Regions from separate parts of the Homo sapiens genome. Here region 2 is linked to region 1. The links are contacts of gene promoters, found by promoter capture Hi-C in blood cells and fetal thymus (Javierre and others, 2016). All regions are on one chromosome and are shown on one strand. The core of a region is centred on a gene start or on the middle of the fragment in contact, and the rest is flanking DNA. Distances in the headings are between cores, read along the strand shown. Region 1 holds the start of TMED4 (transmembrane p24 trafficking protein 4). Region 2 has its middle 15 kb from the start of PPIA.

Evidence for each region. Contacts are between HindIII fragments. The CHiCAGO score rates a contact against its expected background, and 5 or more counts as called.
Region 2: a fragment that was not itself captured here is called in contact with the fragment with the promoter of TMED4 in region 1 in 10 of 17 cell types (naive B cells, endothelial precursors, erythroblasts and 7 more); the score reaches 6.8 in naive B cells.

The regions. Positions count from the first base shown.
Region 1 is chr7:44,579,760-44,585,438 of GRCh38, forward strand. It overlaps TMED4 (transmembrane p24 trafficking protein 4), which reads right to left and starts at 2,472. Exons shown (of 5, transcript NM_182547.4): 1 at 2,288-2,472; 2 at 1,964-2,064; 3 at 1,690-1,815; 4 at 1,334-1,480. The coding sequence starts at 2,447. RefSeq lists silencers at 2,096-2,195, 2,596-2,755 and an enhancer at 2,846-2,955. The HindIII fragment of the contact is 9,471 bases long and covers 1-4,977 here.
Region 2 is chr7:44,808,606-44,814,284 of GRCh38, forward strand. No RefSeq gene overlaps it. Among named protein-coding and RNA genes, the nearest start is that of PPIA, 15 kb to the left of the region's middle. The HindIII fragment of the contact is 991 bases long and covers 2,539-3,529 here.

The DNA of each region.
Region 1 (5,679 bases), core at 1,222-3,721:
TGCTATGGTCTCCCCACTGAGGCTGCCCCAAGAAAGGGACAGGCTGTCCCTCCACAAGCATCTCTGTTAGGACTGAAATCATGATCCTACCATTTCCAACAAGAGTCCAAGAAAAACAGGTAGGCAATGGCTATTACTAGATTGTGAACTGTCCTTTCTTCATTTTATTTTATAGAGCTTAAAAATGACTACTGAAAGCGAAATGTGGCACATGCATACAATGGAATATTAGCCTTAAGAAATTCTGACACATGCTATAACATGGATGAACTGTGAGAACATTATACTCAGTGAAATAAGCCAGTCACAAAAGGACAAATACTGAATGATTCCACTTATATGAGATAGGGTAGTCAGGATCATAGAGACAGAAAGTAGAATGGTGGGTGTCAGGACAAAAGGAAACGGGAAGTTATTGTTTATAATAAGTACAGATTTGCTGGGTGCAGTGGCTCACGCCTGTAATCCCAACACTTTGGGAGGCTGCGGCAGTGGATTGCCTGAGGCCAGGAGTTCAAGACCAGCCTGGCCAACATGGTGAAACCCAGTCTCTACTAAAAACACAAAAATGAGCCACGCATGGTGGCACTTGCCTGTAATCCCAGCTACTTGGGAGGCTGAGGCAGGAGAATCGCTTGAACCTGGGAGGCGGAGGGTGCAGTGAGCCGAGATGGCGCCACTGCGCTCCAGCCTGGGCAACAGAGCGAGACTCCATCTCAAAAACAAAACAAAATAAGTACAGATTTTTAGTTTGAGAAGATGAAAAAGTTCTGGAGCTGGATGATGGTGTTGGTAGCACAACATTATGAAGGCACTTAATACCACTGAACTATATAGACAGTTAAAATGACACATTTGGTGTTATATTTTACCACAATAAAATGTTTTGATAAAAAAGCAAAACAGGCAGGGCGCGGTAGCTCACACCTGTAATCCCAGCACTTTGGGAGGCTGAGGCGGGCGGATCACTTGATGTCGGGAGTTCGAGACCAGCCTGACCAACGTGGAGAAACCCCCGTCTCTACTAAAAGTACAAAATTAGCCAGGCATGGTGGCGCATGCCTGTAATCCCAGCTACTCAGGAGGCTGAGGCAGGAGAATCGCTTGAACCTGGGGAGGCGGAGGTTGCAGTGAGCCAAGATCATGGCATTGCACTCCAGCATGGGCAACAAGAGTGAAACTCCGTCTCAAAAACAACAAACAAACAACCTATCTAAACCAATACTTCTCATTCCATTCTCTGCAGAGCTGATCTCCCAAGCAGAAACTTGAGTAGGTATAGTGGGTATAAAGGTCAACTGCCCTCTCAAATTACAAGGAGATATGCACTTGCCCTTTGGTAATCCTGCTCCTTCTGAATCTGTTCCACCTGATCAAGCAACTGGCGGGCGCGGAGCTGTAGCTCCGTCAGCTTATCTTTTGCAGCAATCTCAGGGTAGTTGTTGGCATGCTCCCCAACCTGGATGTCGAGATGCACCCGCTACAAGGAAACATGGAATGTATGAGTGGTGGGGCCTCCAGTTGTCTGTTCCAGGGTATGGAACCCACTATTGTCCCTGGCTGTGGAGCAGAAGGCAACATCTGTCTCCCCAATTCTGACTGTGCTACAAAGTTTCACAATCTTGATAAATCAAAATTTGGAAACAAGTGAGAGATTCTAAGCTGAAGCCAAAGAGAAAATCCTCTTACCAGTTTGCCACCAGCGAAGAGAGCCATCCTGGTAGAATTGGAGTGCAGACAGATTTGATGGTCACCGGGCGTGTGGGAGGTGAACGTGAAGCGGCCCTCCGAGCCGTACTGCCGGGACAGCACCACCTGCAACATATGTGAGTGAAGGCCCCACCTTTATACCGCAGGCTCTCCAAGTGCAAGTTCCTGTCCCTTGAGGCCTCCTCCAGGCAGTGCTTTACACCCCACGGGAGCTCCACTGAAGAACGGCTGCGTGGGCCAACGCCAGCCTTACCTTGCCGTCGGGGTCCTTCACTTCCACGTGCATGCCCAGGCCAGGGGTCGAGGGCAGGAAGACCTCCTTCTGCTTATCCCACATCTGGGTACGATAGTTGCCTGCGGGGCAGACACATAGTCACGACCGGCCCTAGTGGGCCGCCTCTCCGCCCGGCCCCCTCCGACGTGCGGCCCGGAGCTCTAGGCAGGGGGCCTGGCGTCCTCGGGGCACCCTCAGGCTAGGTACTGGGGGAGCCAGCGACCCGGCTGGGCTCGGGAGGAGGGAGCGCCGCCGAGGGCTGAGCTGGGTACAAAGGGCCTCCCCACCCTCAGCCCGCCTGACCGATGACCATGGTCTCGTCGGGGATTTCCTCGATGAAACAGCGCTTCTCGGTCTCGCCGATGTGGAAGTAGAGCCCCTGGGCGCCTGTGGCGCACAGCGCGAGAAGCAGCAGGGCCTGCCGCCCCATCGCCCGCAGAGGCCCAGCCCCGACACCTGCCATCGCGCCTCAGCCCCTAAGCGCCTGCGCACATTTGCGCATCGCTCTGCGCCTGCGCGCCACCCTAGCGACCCTGAGAGTTAGGGGAAGAGGACGCCTGCGCAGTGATATGTACTCGCCGTCTCCTGCAACTCCATCCGTACCGAACACTGCCGCGCCCCGCCCCCTCACACAGCCCGGCGCCCGCCTACCCCCGCAACGAGAGTAGAGGGCGCATGCGCAATGACGTTCGCCCTTAATTTCTCGCCCCTTACCCCGCAGCTTACCTCCGGCATCTCGCAGGGGAGGCACGCCTGCGCAGTCACGCCCGCCCTCGGCCCCAGTCAGCGATTTGGGTCTCGGAGCACCAAGGAGACGGTGGACGGAATCTGACCAGGCTTGGTGGCTACGATGGCCTGAAGCGTGCCTTTTGGGTTCTCAGCTCGGGCTCACAAGTGTTTTCTGTGCTAAATACAAAAAGCCCTGTGATGTTTTGCTTTGCGTGTCCACCTATCTGACTCGTAAGAACCGAGGCTGAATCCAGACCCACACTCTGTCACGTCGGGAGAGCCTGCCGCGGCGAGCCTCTGCGAGCGGGCATTTCTTGGGTGGGGACCAAAAGCCCAGTGCTGCCATAGTTTCGGATCATTCTTTTAAGAAGCTGGGGCCGGGCGCGGTGGCTGGCACCTGTAATCCCAGCACTCTGGGAGGCTGAGGCGGGCGGATCCCTTGAGCCCAGGAGTTCGGGACCAGCCTGGGCAACATGGTGAAACCCCCGTCTCTACAAAAAATTAACCGGTGTGGTGGTGTGCGCATGTAGTCCCAGCTACTTGGGAGGCTGAGGCAGGAGAATCGCTTGAACCCAGGAGGTCGAGGATGCATTAAGCAGTGATCGCGCTCCAGCCTGGGCGACCGAGGGTGATACCTTGTCTTAAAAAAAAGGTGGGAGAGTGGAACGAAAACTTGGAATAAGTAGGGTCATGGAGCTTGTTTACATCCCCTAGTTACAGCACATCCTTTTGAAAGTGAAAAACAAACTGGAATGTTACTTAGTGGGCATGGAATCGAAGCAACGGAAGGTTAAAACTGTTTTTATCAAGGCCAGGCGGGCGCGGTGGCTCACGCCTGTAATGCTAACACTTTGGGCGGCCAAGGCTGGTGGATCATCTGAGGTTAGAAATTCGAGACCAGTTGGGCCAACAAGGTGAAACCCCCGTCTCTACTAAAAATACATTTTATCAACAGAATTTCGAAACTTTTATATAATAGAATAATTACAATGAACTTTCATAAAGAACTTGAGCATACCTGGATTTTGGTATCCGTAGGGGTCCAGGAATTATCCCCCTTGGATAATAACGGAGGGCTGTACTCATCATCCAACTTCAACAACAGTTTGCTGCCTTTCTCATTTCATGTATCCCTTTCTGCATTTTTTTTTGAAGTGCTGTATATTAAAGCAAATCCTGGACATCATGTCATTTCACCTATAAATACGTCAGTGTGTGTCTCTAACAGATAAGGACTTTATACTATTATCACACCCACCAAAATTTTAAAAATTATTTAACATCACTTAATACCTAGTATGTGTTTAATTTTCCCCATTGCCTTAAAAAATTTTGTACATTAGATATTTAGGGTCCAAACAAGGTTTACTTACTGCATTTCATACAAATATATGTCTCTTAATATATAACAATTTTGGCTGGGCACAGTGGCTCATGCCTGTAATCCCAGCACTTTGGGAGGCTGAGGTGGAAGGATCACTTGAGGTCAGGAGTTTGAGACCAGCCTGGCCAACATGGTGAAACCCTGTTTCTACTAAAAATACAAAAATTAGCCAGGTGTGGTGGTGCACACCTGTAATCTCAGCTACTTGGGAGGCTGAGGCAGGAGAATTGCTAGAATCAGGGAGGTGGAGGTTGCAGTGGGCTGAGATGATGCCACTGTACTCCAGCCTAGGCAACAGAGTGAGATTCTATCTCAAAACAAACAAAAACAGGGCCGGGCGCAGTGGCTCACACCTGTAATCCCAGCACTTTGGGAGGCCAAGGTGGGCAGATCACGAGGTCAGGAGTTCGAGACCAGCCTGGCCAATATGGTGAAACCCTACCTCTACCAAAAATACAAAAATTAGCTGGGTGTGGTGGTGCTCACCTGTAGTCCCAGCTACTTGGGAGACTGAGGCAGAAGAATCGCTTGAACCCAGGAGGCAGAGGTTGCAGTGAGCCGAGATCATGCCACTGCACTCCAGCCTGGGTGAGAGAGAGACTCGTGTCCAAAAAAAAAAAAACAAACCATATAACAACATATATATATATTATACATATTATATATATATTATATATATAAATTTCCCCTCTCTTTTTGTTGTTTGTTATTCATGGCATTTACTTATTGAAGAAACTGGGTCATTTGACCAACAGAATTTTCCACTTTCTGGGTTTTGCTGATTGTATCTTCAGGTGTCATTTAACGTTTTTTGTCCCTGGTATGTCCTGTAATCACAGTTAATTCTAGAGTCAGGGGAGGTTTACAGTGAAACTAATGAAGCTTAATCTTCAGGCCCTCCCTTGCATAGACCCCCGTACCTAATTTCGCATTTATAATTTTGTGTCTTTTTCTTAAAGAGGACTGTGAAATTTGTATAGTTTAAGGCCCCACAAAGCTTGGATTTGCCCCTGGCTAGAAGCTTCATTAGGTTTAGGTGTAATGTTGAGGTTTGGGTTTTTTTGTTTTGTTTTGTTTGCAATAACGCTTCGTGGCTGGCACTATGTACTTCTACTGAGGCACAAGGCGGGTTTGTCTCTTAGTAATATTGTAATTCATCTCTCAATTTGGGGGTTGTCATCCTGATTATCCATGAAGTTTACCATCAGCCTTTCTTCTAATAGTCTAGCAAACGTTGATGATCATTAGACCATTGGTTCTCAACGAGGGTTGATTCTGCCCTGTCCTACCAAGGGGAAATTTGGCAATGTCTGGAGATATTTTGGATTGTTGCAACTGGGTGGGGGGTGGCGGGTGGTACTGCTGTTATCTAGAAAATGAATGCAAGGAATACTGCTAAACATTGTATAATTCACAGAGCACACCTCCCCCCCACAGCGAAGAATTATCCAGCTCAAAATGTCAGTAGTACCCAGGTTGAGAAACCCTAGTGTAGTTTTATGATGTTCCTTAGGTGTGCAAAGTGGTAATTTCAAATGCTCTCATTTCTCCTGCATTTATAAGATGAGATTCTTCTACAAAG
Region 2 (5,679 bases), core at 1,784-4,283, 230 kb after region 1:
TTGGCCTCCCAAAGTGCTGGGATTACAGGAGTGAGCCACTGCACCTGGCCAAAATTACCCTTTTTAAGAGCACAGTTCAATAATTTTCAGTTAGTTTTAGAGCATTCCATCACCCCAGTACAAGGCCTTGTTTCCATATGTGGTCAATCTTGCTTCAACTGCAGTCCCCTCACCACCTGGCAACTGCAAACATGCCTTCTGTCTCTATAGATTTGTTGTTTCTGGACTTTTTTTTTTTTTTTTTTTTAAGACAGGGTCTTGCTCTGTTACCCAGGCTAAAGTGCAATGGCACGAACATCATTCACTAACACCTTGACCTCCTGGGCTCAAGTGATCCTCCTGCCTCAGCCTCCCAAGTAGCTGGGACCACAGCTATGTACCACCACGTCTGGGTAATTTTTAAGTTTTTTGTAGAGAAGAGGTCTCATCACGTTGCCCAGGCTGGTCTCGATCTCTGGGCTCAAGCAGTCCTCCCACGTCTGTCTCTCAAAGTGCTGGGATTACAGGTGTGAGCCACTGGGCCTGGCTGGACTTTTACAGTGAATCATACACTGTGTGGTCTTTGCTCCTTCCCACTTTGTTTGTTTGTTTGTTTAGAGATGGAGTCTTGCTCTGTCACTCAACCTGGAGTGCAGTGGTGCAATATAACTCACTGAAGCCTCAAACTCCTGAACTCAGTGCAGGACTGGACTCCTGGACTTTATTTTTTTTTACTCCATGTTTTTCTTGTTTATTTGAATCAATGGTTCTGTATGAATGCAATTTTAGGAAATATAAATATTCATCTTAGGGGACTGGCTAAATCTCAGTCTCTTGAGTAGCTGGGATTACAGGTGCATGGCGACATTGTTTCCCTTAAGTGAAAATGATTTTTTTTTTTTTTTTGAGACGGAGTCTTGCTCTGTCACCCAGGCTGGAGTGCGGTGGCGCGATCTCGGCTCACTGCAAGCTCCGCCTCCCAGGTTCACGCCATTCTCCTGCCTCAGCCTCCCGAGTAGCTGGGACTACAGGCGCCCGCTACCAAGCCCGGCTAATTTTCTGTATTTTCAGTAGAGACGGGGTTTCACCTTGTTAGCCAGGATGGTCTCGATCTCCTGACCTCGTGATCCGCCCGCCTCGGCCTCCCAAAGTGCTGAGATTACAGGCGTGAGCCACCGCGCCCGGCCTCTTTTTTTTTTTTTTTTTTTAAGACAGAGTCTCACTCTGTCACCCAGGCTGGAGTGCAATGGGCGATCTTCACTCACTGCAACCTCCGCCTCCCAGGTTCAAGTAATTCTCCTTCCGCAGCCTCCCAAGTAGCTGGGATTAGAGGCTGATGCCACCACGCCCAGCTAATTTTTGTATTTTTAGTAGAGAGGGGGTTTCACGATGTTGTCCAGGTCGGTCTCGAACTCTTGAGTTCAAGTGATCCTCCAAACTCGGCCTCCCAAAGTGCTGGGATTACAGGCGTGAGCCACTGCGCCCAGCCGATGTTGACTCTTTTAAAAGTTCAGGACAGGCTGGGCGCAGTGGCTCACGCCTGTAATCCCAGCACTTTGGGAGGCTGAGGCAGGTGGATCACAAGGTCAGGAGATCGAGACCAACCTGGCCAACATGGTGAAACACTGTCTCTACTAAAATACAAAAAATTAGCCGGGGGTGGTGGCACGCACCTGTAGTCCCAGCTACTCAAGAGGCTGAGGCAGGGGAATCACTTGAACCTGGGAGGCAGATGCCACTGCACTCCAGCCTGGAGACAGAGCGAGACTGTGTATCAAAGAAAAAAAAAAAGTTCAGGACAGCTGGGCACGGTGGCTCACTCCTGTAATCCCAGCACTTTGGGAGGCCAAGGCAGGTAGATTGCTTGAGCTCATGAGTTGGAGACCAGCCTGGGCAACATAGTGAAACCCCATCTTTACAAAAAATACAAAAATTAGCCAGGTGTGAGCCTGTGGTCACACTGGATGCGAGCCTGTGGTCCCAGCTACTCAGGTGGCTGAGGTGGGAGAATCCCTTGAGCCTGAGAGGTGGAGTTTGCAGTGAGACGTGGAGTTTGCAGTGAGACGTGATTGTGCCACTGCACTCCAGCCTGGGTGATAGAGCCAGACCTTGTCTCCAAAAGAAATAAAACAGCTGGGTGCGGTGGCTCACGCCTGCAATTCCAGGCCGAGGCAGGTGAATTATCTGAGGTCAGGAGTTCAGGACCAGCCTGGCCAACATGGTGAAACCCCATCTCTACTAAAAAATAAAAAATTAGCCGGGCGTGGTGGCACATGCCTGTAATCCCAGCTACTCAGGAGGCTGAGACAGGAGAATTGCTTGAACCTGGGAGGTGGAGGTTGCAGTGAGCTGAGATCGTGCCATTGCACTTTAGGCTGGGCGACAAGAGTAAAACTCCATCTCAAAAATAAATAAATAAATAAAATAAAGAAACAAATAAAACAAAGAGTTCAGGACATTGACTTTGTGGAATGTCCATTATTCTGGAGCTAATTGTTTCCTGTTTTTCTCTTTTAGCTCCTGTATTTTCTGTAAATTGGAAATTACACTAGGCCTAGAAGCTTAATTGGATTCAAATTCATCATATTTAGCAGGAAGATTTCATAGGTGATACTTTGTGTACTTAATCTTGCCTCACATCAGGAGGCACAAAGTCTCAGGCTGACTCATCAGTGAGGCTAAATTTGAACTTGCAGTTAAGGTAATGCCTGCCAGACTGCTCCACTGGAAAGGTATCTTTTCCCTTTTCTGAAAATTAGGTAATCTTGAGGGGTGATATTTTGCCTCTGCATAAAGACCCTCTTTCCAAGAAGAGAGCCTTTTCACCTGATTGTTGTGTTTTGGCATTAATTATATTTGTCTGAATCAATTATTCCCTTTTGCAGTTGTAAAGTACCCTTCTGATCCCTCCCTCCTCCTGTCACTATGGACTTATGTATTTTTATTCAATATATTAAATAATTGTTTTCCCAGTTGCCTTATTTGAATTTACATCCAAATAGGATCCATATATCTATAGAAGTTTGAGCAGAGGAGTGACAGCATTTGCCTAACTTTTTTTTTTTTTTTAGATAGGGTCTTGCTCTGTTGCCAAGGCTGGAATGAACTGATCTCAGCTCACTGCAGCCTCGACCTCCTGGCCTCAGGCGATTCTCCTATCTCAGCCTCCTGGTAGCTGGAACTACAGGCATGTGCCACCCACCACACCTGGCTAATATTAAAAAAAAATTTTTTTGAGACAGAGTCTTGCTTGGTTGTCCAGGCTGGAGTGCACTGGTGTTATCTCAGCTCACTGCAACCTCCGCTTCCCAGGTTCAAGCGATTGTTGTGTCTCAAGCCTCCTAAGTAGCTGGGACTATAGGAGTGAACCACCACGCCCGACTAGTTTTTGTATTTTTAGTAGAGGCAGGGTTTCACCATGTGGGCCAGGCTGGTCTCAAAGTCCTGACCGTAAGTGATCCGCCTGCCTTAGCCTCCCAAAGTGCTGGGATTACAGGTGTGACCCACCACTCCTGGCCAAAAAATTCTTTTAAAATTTTTTGTAGAGACAAGCTTTCACCATGTTGCCCAGGCTGGTCTCAGACTCCTGGGCTGAAGCAATCCGCCTGCCTTGGTCTCCCAAAGTGCTAGGACTACAGGCATGAGCCACCGTTCTTCTTCTTTTTTTTTTTTTTTTTTTTTTTTTGAGACAGAGTCTCACTCTGTCATCCAGGCTAGAGTGTAGTGGCGCAATCTCGGCTCACTGCAGCCTCCACCTCCCGGGTTCAAGTGATTCTCCTACCTTAGCCTCCCGAGTAGCTGGGATTACAGGCGAGCGCCACCACACCCAGCTAATTTTTGTATATTTATTGGAGACAGGGTTTTGGCATGTTGGCCAAGCTGGTCTTGAACTCCTGACCTCAGGTGATTCACCTGACTCGGCCTCCCAAAGTGCTGGGATTACAGGTATGAGCCACTGTGCCCAACAGAGCTACCTTTTTTTTCCCCCCCGAGACGGAGTCTTGCTGTGTCACCCACTCTGGAGTACAGTGGCGTGATCTCGGCTCACTGCAGCTTCCACCTCCCAGGTTCAAGCAATTCTACTGCCTCAGTCTCCCAACTAGCTGGGATTACAGGCGCCCACCACCACGCCCGGCTAATTTTTTGTATTTTTTAGTAGAGACGGGGTTTCGCCATGTTGGCCAGGCTGGTCTTGAACTCCTGACCTCAGGTGATCTGCCAACTTCAGCCTCCCAAAGTGCTGGGATTACAGACATCAGCCACCGCGCCCGGCCTAAGCCACCATTCTTAAAAAGGTCACTTTGACTGAAGTCTGTTGAGGATAGACTATGTGGCGGAGTGAAATCTGGAGACTACTGCATCATCCAGGAGTGAGGAAAGGGGCTTGGGCCAGGATAGTAATGTCAGTGGTGAAAAGTAAATCTGCTTTAATGACAGGATTACTTTAAATGAAAGAGGAGGATATGATGGCTTATGCCTGTAGTCCTAGCTACTCAGGAAGCTGAGGCAGGAGGATTGGTTGAGCCCAGGAGGTCATGGCTGCAGTGAGCCATGATTGCACCACTGCACTCCAGCCTGGACAACAGAGCAAGACTGTCTCAAAAAAAATACGGCAGGGCGCAGTGCTTCACGCCTGTAATCCCAGCACTTTGGGAGGCCATGGCAGGCGGATCACCTGAGGTTGGGAGTTTGAGACCACCAGCCTGACCAACATGGAGAAACCCCGTATCTACTAAAAATATAAAATTAGCCGGGCATGGTGGCACATGCCTGTAATCCCAGCTACTCGGGAGGCTGAGGCAGGAGAATCACTTGAACCTGGGAGGTGGAGGTTGCAGTGAGCCAAGATCGCGCCATTGCACTCCAGCCTAGGCAACAAGAGCGAAACTCCATCTCAAAATAAATAAATAAATAAATAAATAAATATATATACACACACATATATTAATATAAAATATAAATAAATGCAAGAGGAAATGAGATTGGTTATCTTTAGAACCTTAAATTCTGAAATACTATTTTTTCTCCTTCATGTTTTAAATTTTCTTGCTTTGTTTGAATCAATGGTTATGTACAAATGCAATTTTAGGAAACAGTATAAATATTCATCATAGGGGACTGGCTAAACAAATTACAGTTCTCTATTAATTTATTATTTTATATTATTTTATTTTATTTTATTTTTTGAGATGGAGTCTCACTCTGTCTCCCAGGCTGGAGTGCAGTGGTGTGATCTCAGCTCACTGCAACCTCCACCTCCCCGGTTCAAGCAATTCTCCTACCTCAGCCTCCTGAGTAGCTGAGATTACAGATGCCCGCCACCATGCCCAGCTAATTTTTGTAATTTTAGTAGAGACGGGGTTTCACCATGTTGGCCAGGCTGGTCTCGAACTCCTGACCTCAGGTGATCTGCTCACCTCAGCCTCCCACAATGCTGGGATAACAGGCGTAAGCCACCGCGCCCCGCCTATTAATTTATAATAGCCTTACAGATCCACTGCTTCCTTTTACTGCCCTGAACTCAAATTATGGGTGTGACTTTCTTACAACATTTTTAAAGATCAGTAAGGTCTAACTAGACAATAAAGGACAAAGGAAAGGGAAATCCCTGATGATGAAATAATATGTGTTTCACTCTGTATTATTATTATTATTATTATTATTATTTTTGAGAGGGAGTTTCACTCTTGTTGCCCAGGC